Regions from separate parts of the Homo sapiens genome. Here regions 2, 3 and 4 are each linked to region 1. The links are contacts of gene promoters, found by promoter capture Hi-C in blood cells and fetal thymus (Javierre and others, 2016). All regions are on one chromosome and are shown on one strand. The core of a region is centred on a gene start or on the middle of the fragment in contact, and the rest is flanking DNA. Distances in the headings are between cores, read along the strand shown. Region 1 holds the start of KLHL32 (kelch like family member 32). Region 2 overlaps CCNC (cyclin C). Region 3 holds the start of USP45 (ubiquitin specific peptidase 45). Region 4 overlaps USP45 (ubiquitin specific peptidase 45).

Region 1 (3,014 bases), core at 163-2,662:
CAAAGACGCTTTCATATTCGATTTTCTGATAGAAGACAACGCAATGAAAACTATCAAGTTGCTTATGAAAAATTCTTAGGATGACACTGCACCTAATGTTTGTAGTCAGTTGTTTGTCATTCTTTCCCTTGTCCTATGCTGTGTCCAGGACTGCTAGATAAGTAGGTACCCAGCATCCTAGCGTCCAGATATCAAAACCATGAAAATGAAGCACTACAAGCCAGACAGATAACCTCCAGAGGGAGCAAACGAATAAACCCCCAAATCCTGTGGATCTAGAAGTAGAAAATAATCGCTGAACCACTGATTTGAGACCAATGAGAACATTAAGGACACCTCAAAATAGATCAGGGCACTGTTCCTAGCCCAACTCTGTGGCAGAACATAAACCTGCAAGAAATAGGATTAACATACTATCTTTGCAGTAAGTTAAATCCTGAACTTCTACAAAATACAGTTTACTCCAATTTAGTTACACTCTTCCTGCTTCTGGTGTCTTACCTCCACGTTGGACTAAGGTTTTCAATTCGGTGGTGGAATACTTACCTATTAAAATTACCCACTTTGCTTTAGTGTGAGTTTCTCAGCATGTTTTACACAGGAGTGACCTGAATGACTCGGAAGTGGCACTTGAGTGTGCCAGGCCCTGGAATTTAATGGTATGGTTCTGTGGTTGTTGTCTGTTTGCGGTTTTATTGCTGAATTAGTAGTAACCACAGTAATCACACCCTTTCTCATTTCTCAGGCTTGGGGATTTCGTCCACCTCTGGCGGGTTGGTTCCCCTGACGTTTCTTAAAGTTACTGTGAATTTGTTCTGGTCAGTACCATAGAGTGTATTATCCTAAGGAGGGCCACTGTAGGGCCGCTAGGACTAGAGGCAACTTGAACTTCACAAGTTAGCAGAGCAAGGACTCCCTGGAACACCGAGTTAGGGCCACGGGGTCTGTTTGCTCAGATTGCCCGCCAGCCCTGGGAAAGGAGTCTGGGGGCGAGCAGGCTGGGTTCCCGGGTCTCAGTCGCCGCAGTGGTGGCTACAGACTGCGCATGTGACCCAGGGGCCGGCGACGCAGGTGCCGGAGAGCGAGGAGGAGGGCGGCGTGGAGGAGGGTACTTCCGGGACCGGCGGGCGCGCGCTGGCAGCTCGCCGACGGCGGGGGCGGGGGCGGGGGGCGGCAGGGGAGCGAGCGCGCTGGCGGCGGGCGGTGGCGTTGCGCGCGGGGTGGCGAAAGGATGTGCGCGGGATCGCGGGGGAGGGGGAGGGAGCGCGCGGGCTAGCTGGAGGCGGGAGGGGGCGGAGCCCTGTGGCGTCTGAACCCGCCCCGGGGGTGCCAAGGTGCGTCTCCAGTCTGACGCGACCGCCTGGGGCGGAGTCAGCGGGACGTGCCACCTGCAGTGCTGGCTAGGGCTTTTTATTTACTAGGGAGCAGTTTCCCCGCGCGACAGTTCGGGAGCGCGCAGGCAGTCGCGCGCACACACGCACGCAGGCACACACACACACACACACACACACACACACACACTTTCGCACACACAAACACGCTAGGACGCTCGTCTTCGCTACTGCATCCCCGAACCAGCAGAGCGAAGCTACTGCGGGTTCTGTTAACCTCAGCATCGTGGGGCGAAGCAGAGCCATTGTGCATCAAGGAGAGGCCGGTGCCTGCGCTGCCGTCTCTGGCACCTAACCCAGCAGACCGCTCACCCCATCGGGTAAGCCAGTCTCTCTCCTTGTAACCTGTTCTGCAGACCTGAGGAAGAGGGTGGGAGGCTGCTGGTGCGCCAAGTGGGGGCAGACCCGGAGTTGACATTTCAGGGGCTTGCAGCCCATGCAGCCTCTGCCCGTGTCGTCTAACGGGAGCAGCCACTACTCAGGTTACTTATGCTGCCAGCCCTGGAGTCGCTCCCCCTTTCTTCCCTCCCCCTGAGCCCAATATGTACTGTGCTCCTTGGTTGCCAAGGAGACTTGCTTAAACATCAGCCGTGGGACATCTATTGAAAGAACTGGTTTCTTAAATGATGCCGTTATTTATTTTGATATTTAAAATAAAATATACACTGAGGACCTTTCGTAATTTGGCATTTGTTAATCTGTATTCAGGTGGCGGTTTCATTCAACTTCAAGAAAAGCCGTAATTGCACTATATGGTATGCTTTAAAAAGGATTCGTCAGATGAATTTTTCAACGGATTGTGTCTTGAATCATAATTTACTCCCATTTTGGTGATCTTATAAAGAAAGATGACTGCAGTTTAGATCCCTTCTTCCCCTCTATTTCCAGTTTTATTTTGCAGTTCACTTAGTCGTGATTATTTTAAATTAAAAGCAGATGATTTAATTGTGTTTCCCCACACAAGAATGAGCTTCTATTGTAAATTGACCAGAACAGGAATACGTTTGTGAATTCGTAACGTAAGAAGGTAGCATTCATGACATACATCTTTGCTAGCATTTTTATATCCCCTGCATCAGTATTGAAGCGCAGTTTTTTGCACCTCTGCTCATTTCTGAGAAGATTCTGTTTTTTAAAAAATCTCTTATTGATTATTTTTAGATCTATCTCTATACACAGATAGAGATAGATATAAAATGTGTGCCATGGCTTACTAGAGCTTATATGAAAGTGCAGTGGTTTTTGCTTTTTGTTTTTTTTCTGATGGGACTGGGTCCTCTACTGGAACACTGATAGGCCAATGGAACAGGTCAGCCTAATACCTGGGCTGTCAGTTTTGTTTTATTTTGAGGTCTCGGGTGTCTATTGGGTGAACTTGTAACACAGTACTTGAAGGCATCAGCAATCCAGTAATTACACTTTGCACGAATTTCATGCCTCCATCACAAACAAATGGCCCAGTAAAGATCCACTGGCATTCAAGAATTAATTTTGTTTTCCTTGGATATTTGTTCATCTTTTCTACTTCTTGTTAAATGACCCAAGGAAATAAGTCAAATTCTTCTAATTTAGATTTTAAACTCTGTCATAGAGAGTGTAATAAATAATGTGAGGAGCAAGTAA
Region 2 (3,014 bases), core at 369-2,868, 2.6 Mb after region 1:
TCTGTATGTGCCACTATGGACTTTTAAAGTTTTCTTCCTACAGGTTCTGTATATTTCTTTATATTTTTCCCTCTGTATATTTTCTGTTGCTAATGTAAATTATACTTCTCTATCCATTTTTAAAAAGCTTTTATTTTTGCATTTTATAACTGGTCACCTTCCTAAACCTTTATTATTTCTAATAACTTCTCAATTAACTGAGTTTTCTCATTAATTTTATTTCCACGTATTGATAATTTTGTCCCTGTTTTGTCATTCTTTCTATATCTCCTTTGTATCAACTGTATTGACTAGCATATTGGTAAAATCTTAAATAGGCACCCTAATTATCTCAATGTTTCACCACTGCTGATGCTTTATGTTTTTCATGTTAAGGAAGCATCCTATTTCTGTTTTAGTAAGAGCTTTAGTCAAGGATAAATGTTGAATTGTATTAGTTTTTTAATACCTTTACTGCTTGATTTCTTAATATTGACTATATTTCTATAATAAAATCCAATGTCATGTTTTATACTTTCAATGTAATGTTAGACTGCATTTGGTAATAATTCATTTACAATGTTTGCATTAATATTCAAAAGTGAGACTGTTTTTAGTGTTCCCTTTGCTAGATTTTTCTGTGTTATCATGGCTTCATAAAGAGAATTAGAAAGCTTTTCTTCTTTCTGTATGAAATGGAACAATTTCAAAAGGAGATTCTCTTGAAAGATGGAAAGTATTTACCCATGAAATAACACATAGCTCTTGGGTAATACTCTTAACTTGCTTTGGCTTTCAAATTTAAAACCCTGGAGATAACCCAAAAGTACCCCTGGGTTTACTTTTCTCATTCCTAATTTTGTATTTTTGTATCATTCCTTTTTCCCCTGATTTAACTAGCAGTAGTTTGGTCTACTGTTTTTATTTACTCTAAGAATTAGCTTTTATAATTTTTTTCCTTTTAATATATTAGCATCGTTATCTATTTTAAGTCTTTCTGTTTCTTTAGGTTTATTTCATGTTTCCTTCTTAATATTATTAAATAGAATATTTCTATTATCTCTCAATTATTCAGGATATTGATTTTCTAATACATTCAAGCTTTGGTTACATTCCATATATGGTACTATTATGATGTTATTTTCTAGATAGTAAGTAACTGTATTTTCAGTTTCCTGTGGATACCAATAAAGTATCCACAGTTAGTTTTGTAGTTTTTATTTTTGTTACTTGTTCATTAATGCATTCAATTAACCAGCAAATACTTAGTGCCCTTCTAGTTCATTTTGGTCACAGACTGTGTTTTGTTCTACCTCAACTACACTGTGGTTTGCTAATTAATTTCATCCCCACAGAGTCATTTTATGTTTTTAAAAAGATAAATTTCACAAACATTTTATGAGTTTTCCTCACAGAACTCTGTATGGAGAATAAACTAAAAAACTTTATAAATACTGCATTTCATCAAATTTAAGATTACATCTAGGATTCATCATTATTTCATATGCTATGAAAGCAACTGCCATGCTGATTTCAAAGATGTTAAAGTGTGAAAACGTGCATCTTAGAAGCATGAAATATAGCATATTTAATATCAATTGCCCTCTTTCACCAAATTCACCTAAGACAATGGCCTTTCATAATCTTTTCGTTTGTTTTTCCAGAATTGTCTTGTCTTCCACACTCGTTACCTTTTCCAGATAAGAAACTCCATGACTGCTCAAGGGATTTGAGCAAGGCAAAGTGGTCCCTTCTTTTAGGACTATTTGAATTGGGAGAAAAGAATAGTTTCAAAGAAGTACACTTAACTTTATAATAATTTTATATTTGAAAAGTGAAAACATATTTTTAGAATGCTATGAATAAATGAAAGCATAATGAGAACACTATTGAAAATAAGGCAGGATCTTTTTTTTTTAAGTTGAAAAACTGAAAAATCAACAGTCAGCTACTTGTCAATTCTCTCAGCTTCTTTCAGAGTTTATCAGAATATCTCTTCTCCACTACCTAAACTTTTTTTTTCAGGAGCTCTAACTCCAATACCTAAACTTTCGATACTTTAATTTTGCCCAAGCAATATTTCAGTGTGTGAAAACAATGCAACATATATACACACACATATATATATACATACACACACACACATATATATACACACACACACATATGATCAGTGGTAAAGCTTCTTTAACATGTCATCTCCACAGAATCACTTTATAGCAAGAGGAAAACCTGCTTTTCCTTAAATAGGTTACTGAGTTCATTGTTTCTTTTTTTCTCTTTGCAAAGGGCTAAAAAATGAACATCAGGAACAGATCCTATTCACAGAATCGAAATTTAAATTACTTACTAATGCTTTCTTAGCATAAAAAATTATACCAAGATACCTTGTCAAATTCTGTTCATCTTTCAACTATACAGTGGAAAGCCTACTCAAATGTTCAATTTACCCCATAACGCACCTTCCTGCCTGCTTAAACAAATGTATTTAGGGATAAATGTTTTTAATATTATTCTAGCTCTCACATGGTCACTGACAGAAACAAGAACTTATTCATGAAAAAGGTTAAAGAAACAGGTAAACAAAGTCACTGGAAAAATAGGCCTTTAAAACAAAATATAAAGCACAGGCTAATGAAATGGATAAATTTAGAGGGCACCTGCCCTATACCTTATCAATATAAAACTCCATCTAGACATAAAGTACGCGCAAGAAGCGGTTAGTAGGCAGAAACAAGCCAGACTCTCTCCTCTCCTCATAATATTAAATCCACTCAAGATATACAGTGAATGACAAAAGACCACGACGCCGATCACCCGAAGAAACCCCAGGTAAAAGCACGCCACAACTGTCCTGAACAGGTAGCCTCACAGTCTTGAGCTGAGTCACACTTCCCGTACCTGTGCCCACTCTATCCGACCCCCCGCGGCCTAGCTAAACCAAGAATCCGAAATTAAACTCCGAAACGTTCCTTCCCGGGAGACGAAACTCTCTCCCACCCCTCCCCCTCACAGATCCTTCCCTCCCCGAAACT
Region 3 (3,014 bases), core at 164-2,663, 2.6 Mb after region 1:
ACAAAACACATCCTTCCTCCATCAGTGAAAATGCAGCAGTTTCCGCGCAGGGAAGCCCATTAAAGACTTGGTGTCCCGGATTTTTACAGAAGCTGGTAATTTCGGCATAAAACATACTGTTCAGCACAAACCCAAAAATCTAAGTTCCCAGATGCCAAACAAGCACCAACATTGCAAGCAGTCCTTTCTAAGGATAGCAGTCTTAAGGCCTGCTATGTTAACTCTTTTTAGCACAAATATGTTCTGGCCATTTTTCTCATGCGGTTTTCCAAACAATAAACTTTACAGTTTTCAAGTCACCATCACTTAACACTTGTCTTTTCTCTAAAGTAGGATGTGCAACTAAGTTGTTTAGAAAGCTTTGTTTTTAAACAGGCTATGCAAAAAGCCCATATCCTTAAGAAAAAAAAATCCTTTTTTCCTACTCTTGGGCAATTATTTATGGGGGTTGGAAAGAGAAGAAAAGGTCACTATCTCCTTTTATATACCAAGCTCAAAAAGATGAGCAGCACTTATGGTTTTGCTGTGTATCACGCTCAGTTCTAAGCACTTCACAAATATTAACCCACGCAACCCTCACAACCACCTTAGGAGATAAGTTGCTATTATTTTCCGCATTTTACACTTGAAACTGAGAAAGAGAAGTGAAGTGACTTGCAGAGGTCCCAAAGCCAGTAAGCGGTGGATGGAGATGCGGACCCAAGCAGTCCGGCCCCGGAGCTCCTAATACACGACGCTTCCAGAAAAGTCATTAGACAGGCTTCCTCCGGTCACCAACACACACACACCCCGAGGATGTGAAGAGAAATGCGCCGCGATGAGGCGGACGGAAAGGTGTGGGGCCGCCGCGCGCCCAGGTCACCAGGGGACTCGGGCCCCTCCCAGGCCAGCCCCGACGCCCAGGGCTTCTCCCGCAGCCGCATGGACCCGGAGCCGGCAGAGCGGCGCTCACACGGCCCTCGGTGACCGCCCGGCGCCCCCAGGGATCAGGAAGCCGAGTGGGGTGGGGAGCCTCTCTTCCAGCCTCGCCCACCCACAAGGGGGTCAAGGTCGCCGAAGCGAAGACCGAGAAACTGCGGCGACCATACCGCCGCTGCGACCAAAGCGCCGCGTTCTCAACTCACCCCGCCGGGCCGGGCCGCAGCGTCTACAACCTGGGGAGACTGCGCCTGCGCGCTCGTCCCGCTCCCGGCAGAGGTGGGGCCTCGTTCGCCCGCCCCCAGCCAGGACCGGGAGGGTTCCAGGCGGCGCGCCCGGGGCCCGGGAGCGCGGGGAGGGGTGAAAGGGCGGGGCCGGCTTGCGTGGCGCCTGCGTTCTGCGTGTCCGCAGAGCCCGGAGAGTCCCTGATAATCTAAGACTCATAGCCACCGACTAGCAATTTGTTAGGATCCTGGGCCAGCGTGCGCACCTCGGATGTTGCAGGAGTCCGGCTTAAGTCCCACTTGTTGCTGGGCACCTTCTGAAACAGCCTCCGATTTCCCTCCGTTACCCTCCTCTGAACTCTTTTTTTTTTTTTTTTTTTTTTGAGACGGAGTCTCGCTCTGTCGCCCAGGCTGCAGTGCAATGGCAAGATCTCGGCTCACTGCAACCTCCGCCTACCGGGTTCACGCCATTCTACTGCCTTAGCCTCCCGAGTAGCTGGGACTACAGGCGCCCGCCATCACGCCCGGCTAATTTTTTGTATTTTGTTTAGTAGAGACGGGGTTTCACCGTGTTAGCCAGGATGGTCTCGATCTCCTGACCTTGTGATCCGCCCGCCCCGGCCTCCCAAAGTGCTGGGATCACAGGCTTGAGCCACCGCGCCCGGCTCCGCCCCCACACCCCCGCCGCCCCCTGAACTCTTAAAGTCACATCTAACATTCGTCATATATTATTGTGGTTTTTCCCCCATTGCTGTTGTCTTACCTATCCTTCTCTCTTCCTAGCTAGATAGTACATTTCTTGAAATACACCTATACCTCCTCAAAGCCCGGTTATCTGTTGAAGTGGCCAGCACATTGCATGTTTAGTAAAAGTAGTTGGTTTGAAAATATTTTGTTTCAATCATGGATATTGCAAATGCCAACACTGGTTATGGATAGGTTCTAAAAGTCTCCTGATCTTTCACAACTCTTCAGCCAAGGGACAAATGTGGCTTTAAGGATAAGAGCATTGGCGTAGAAATCAGAAGATACGAGAGTTAAAATTGCAAACACTAAATTTTTCTTTAAAAACTCTTCTAACAGTATTTACATGTGGAGAACTTGGCAAAGAAGGTTGATATTTGCTTATATCGTACTTAACAAGGACCATTCATTTAACAAACATAATTGAGCACAGATATGCCAGTTGCTGTTACAGGTATAGAGGTACACTATCATTTTGGGGTTAGGATAATTTTTTTCCCTAGGGAAAAAGAAAATATTCCTCAAATAAGAAGAGGTCATGTGGTGTAATTTTGAAGGCAAAATTGTCTACTTCATAAATCAAAAGCTTTCATGTATTTTAACTTTGGATTTGACCTAGAACTTGGAAGAACAAGAACAAGCAAACTTGAGCAAATCTAAATAATTTGCATCTTAATTGTGTCACTGTAAAAGAGATTTTAAAAAATATATGTGGAAACCCAGTTTATGATTGATTTTTTAAAAGGGATTGAATTAGATTATGGAAATTTAGGTTCTTTTCTTCATAAGAAAAAAATTAGAAATTATCAAATACCATACAATACTTAAATTTTCTTGGAAACGACAAAATTCAAAGCTATCTTGATTTCCACTAGATAGACCCTTAGCATAACCAAAATCTCCAGAGATTTCATTCTTTGTTTCAAAACTTGGCATAAATTAAGGAAAATTCTCTAACACTATTTTATTTTATTTCTGATGTTCCTCATTTACCTTTTCACTTAATTGAATGTAAAATTTACTACTTGATGGATTATTCAAAGAAAGGAAATTATTTTTAAATATTACTCAGTAAGTATGTTTTAGTGCTATTACAATGACATTATAACAAAACATCAAATAAAAATA
Region 4 (3,014 bases), core at 276-2,775, 2.6 Mb after region 1:
TTTGTAACAAGAATACAGGATAGGTTTAACACTTGAAAAAGGAATCAGTGTAATTCACCACATTAACAGAATAAAGAAGAAAAACCATATGATCATCTCAATAGATGTGGGAAAAGCATTTGACAAAATTCAACATCCATTCCGATAAAACTTTCAGAAAACTAGCAATAGAAAGGAATGTCCTCAAGCTTACAAAGAACACCTCTGAAAATCGTACCTTCGTATGTAATAATGGGAGAAGGCTGAATGTTTGTTCCCCTAATTTTGGGATTAAGGCAAGGCTGACTGCTCCCATCATCTCTATTCAACATGTTACTGGAGCTCTGAGCCAGCACAATAAGGTAAAAAAATAAAAATAAAAAAATAAACGGTATATAGACAAAAGACAAAGATAAACTGGTGATTCAAAGGGCAGTAACCAACTCAAAGAACAGTGCCACAGCTCAGGTCAACTTTATGCCCTAAAAACCTAAGATATAAGATTCAAAATTACCCTGTTAGAATGATACAAACCTAAAGTTATTAACTACAGTATCTAATTGCCATATAGTAATCCTGAAACACAGCTCTGCATGTCAAATATTTAAACTCAACATCCAATCGCATTTAACAGGAAATCACATTTAACAGGTCTTTTTAAATGACTAGGCAATAACTTCCCTTTAGTAGTTTTAAGGATCTCACTACACTTTATTTAGAATAGGGCATTGGAATCTATCATTAAATTTTTAAGGGGCTGAACAAATGTTTACAGGCTGCTTTTCGACTATATATACATATATATATGGTAAACATTTACATGTAAATATATATATAAAAAGGAGGTTATTATATATATATAACAGTATGTTATATATATAATAATACTGTCTTTCAAAGATATATATATAAAACAATACTGTCTTTCAAAAGTGCCTACTGGGAAAAACAATCTAAGATTACTAAGCATGTTTAGAGGGCTAAGCATTTTTAGAACTCTTTAATTGTTTTCAAAAGTCAGATCATGAGCTATACATATACTCTGACTTACACACTTACACACACACACAAACACACACACACAGGCTGATCAATTTCTCACTAAAATTATCCTTACTAGTATCAACACCTCCCAGCCAAAGTCCATCAGAAACACACCTATCGTTGAACTAGGTGGGTTTATTACTTGTGGCAGTGAGGGAGATCACGCAGCATGGGGAACCACAGGGTGTCCTAGTAAGAGAGTGCTGTAAAGAACCTACCCAGGATTTAGGCTCTGGTTGAATAACCTGAAGGTGGGTTTCAGGAAGCAGAGGTTTACTCTAGAGTGAATGCCCTCAGAAAGCGAGGCTAATTCTATCATGGGACATCTCAATAAATCTTACATATTGTGGCAGTTGGTGGGGGAGACTAAAATGAGGATAAATCTCTAACTAGTAAAGTAGCATTCCTTCATTTCTCATTTTGGCTGAAGGAGGGTGTTTCAGATTTTCTAAATGGCAAAGTGATCTTGTTTTAGACAAAATCATGAAGTGGACTTGCTTTGTCTTATTTCATCGTAGTCTCAGAGAAACCTACTATCAGATTGTTATTCTGTGGGATTATCTGAATAACATGGCCTAACTGTTGGTGCCAGGCCAGCTTCTGAATATCAGGGGCTGCTCTTTTTTTCATCTTTCTCACTAGCTTAAAAATCTATCATCAGGCTAGGCTTCAAAAAACCTTTAGATGTGGCCGGGCGTGGTGGCTCACGCCTGTAATCCCAGCACTTTGGGAGGCCGAGGCGGGTGGATCACGAGGTCAGGAGATCAAGACCATCCTGGCTAACATGGTGAAACCCCGTCTCTACTAAAAATACAAAAAAAAAAAAAAAAAAAAAAAGTTAGCCGGGCGCCTATAGTCCCAGCTACTCAGGAGGCTGAGGTAGGAGAATGGCATAAACCCGGGAGGCGGAGCTTGCAGTGAGCTGAGATCGCGCCACTGCACTCCAGCCTGCACTCCAGCGACAGAGCGAGACCCCGTCTCAAAAAAAAAACCTTTAGATGCTCACTATTAAAATTTCATCTTTCTTTAAAGAACAAAAATGCTAAATTTAAACAAATGTCACCAGAAACTACAAAATAGGGGTTATAGGCATTTTGCTCAATAGAAGTCACACCTCTTTTGTTTCTTCCAGTATGTTTATTTTAAAGCTGCCTTGATATCTTTTTATTATTTGATCCATGGCATATTGGAACCATAACATACCTTAAAGTTATGATTTTAGAAATTTTAAATCTGATTATTTTCACAGAATGCTTTTAAATTATTTTTAAGCCCCCTGGCTACTATCTTAGTTGACTGATCTGCGAATTAGGAAAAGAGATTTTGGTAACATCAGTGGCTCATCTGAAAGCAGCTATTATTCAAACAGTTATTACTCACCAGCTGAGAGTCTGAGGAAGGAAAAATCTTGAGTTTTGTACTACTTTCTTTGATCTCATTCATCAGATCAGTAAGAGTATAAGTCTGTGCCAAGTTCTAAAAGAAAACAAAATTAAAGTCTTCAGATTCAGTTAAAATATGCCTCTGATTTTATGGAATACACTCTCAAATTTCATCTAGCATAGCAAAAGTGTCTATTTCAAAAAATATTAAGATTTAGTTGAGTACATTTTACATTTAGTAAAGGTCACTATTACCGATAGAGCCATGGTAAAATACACAGAAGACCTTTCAGAAGCCCTGTGTGAAAATAAGGTACATGTATACATATGGTGATGGCCCAAGATAGCGTAAACAAAAGGAAAACAGAGAAATTTCTAGAGGAACATTTAGCAGTCATTTGACAGTCTACAGGTGAGCCAATGACTACATAAATTAAGAGAATCTTTTACATATTACAAAGCTTTCTGATGACTCTTACCTGCATGACTGCATTAAAAAAGCAAGTATTTCCTAAATTTGTAATTCCTCTTACAGATAAATTTCTGCATTTTCCTCCCTTCTGTATTTCATCTGTTTCACATTTTTCTTCACAAAGTTTCATGATTCTA

The links. The method cuts DNA at HindIII sites, captures the fragments that hold promoters and counts their contacts. A CHiCAGO score of 5 or more calls a contact.
Region 2: a fragment that was not itself captured here is called in contact with the fragment with the promoter of KLHL32 in region 1 in 1 of 17 cell types (activated CD4 T cells); the score reaches 6.3 in activated CD4 T cells.
Region 3: a fragment that was not itself captured here is called in contact with the fragment with the promoter of KLHL32 in region 1 in 3 of 17 cell types (non-activated CD4 T cells, activated CD4 T cells and naive B cells); the score reaches 7.9 in non-activated CD4 T cells.
Region 4: a fragment that was not itself captured here is called in contact with the fragment with the promoter of KLHL32 in region 1 in 1 of 17 cell types (total B cells); the score reaches 6.9 in total B cells.

Annotation. Positions count from the first base shown.
Region 1 is chr6:96,923,316-96,926,329 of GRCh38, forward strand. It overlaps KLHL32 (kelch like family member 32), which reads left to right and starts at 1,413. Exons shown (of 11, transcript NM_052904.4): 1 at 1,413-1,711. RefSeq lists a silencer at 1,140-1,449. The HindIII fragment of the contact is 7,655 bases long and covers 1-3,014 here.
Region 2 is chr6:99,565,298-99,568,311 of GRCh38, forward strand. All of the region lies in intron 1 of CCNC (cyclin C), which reads right to left. It also overlaps the pseudogene TSTD3. Among named protein-coding and RNA genes, the nearest start is that of CCNC, 1.9 kb to the right of the region's middle. The HindIII fragment of the contact is 1,081 bases long and covers 1,079-2,159 here.
Region 3 is chr6:99,514,268-99,517,281 of GRCh38, forward strand. It overlaps USP45 (ubiquitin specific peptidase 45), which reads right to left and starts at 1,156. Exons shown (of 18, transcript NM_001346022.3): 1 at 1,125-1,156. RefSeq lists enhancers at 164-1,071, 1,072-1,977 and silencers at 894-993, 1,044-1,413, 1,724-1,943. The HindIII fragment of the contact is 2,113 bases long and covers 358-2,470 here.
Region 4 is chr6:99,485,797-99,488,810 of GRCh38, forward strand. It overlaps USP45 (ubiquitin specific peptidase 45), which reads right to left. Exons shown (of 18, transcript NM_001346022.3): 6 at 2,885-3,014; 7 at 2,404-2,499. Among named protein-coding and RNA genes, the nearest start is that of USP45, 28 kb to the right of the region's middle. The HindIII fragment of the contact is 2,678 bases long and covers 187-2,864 here.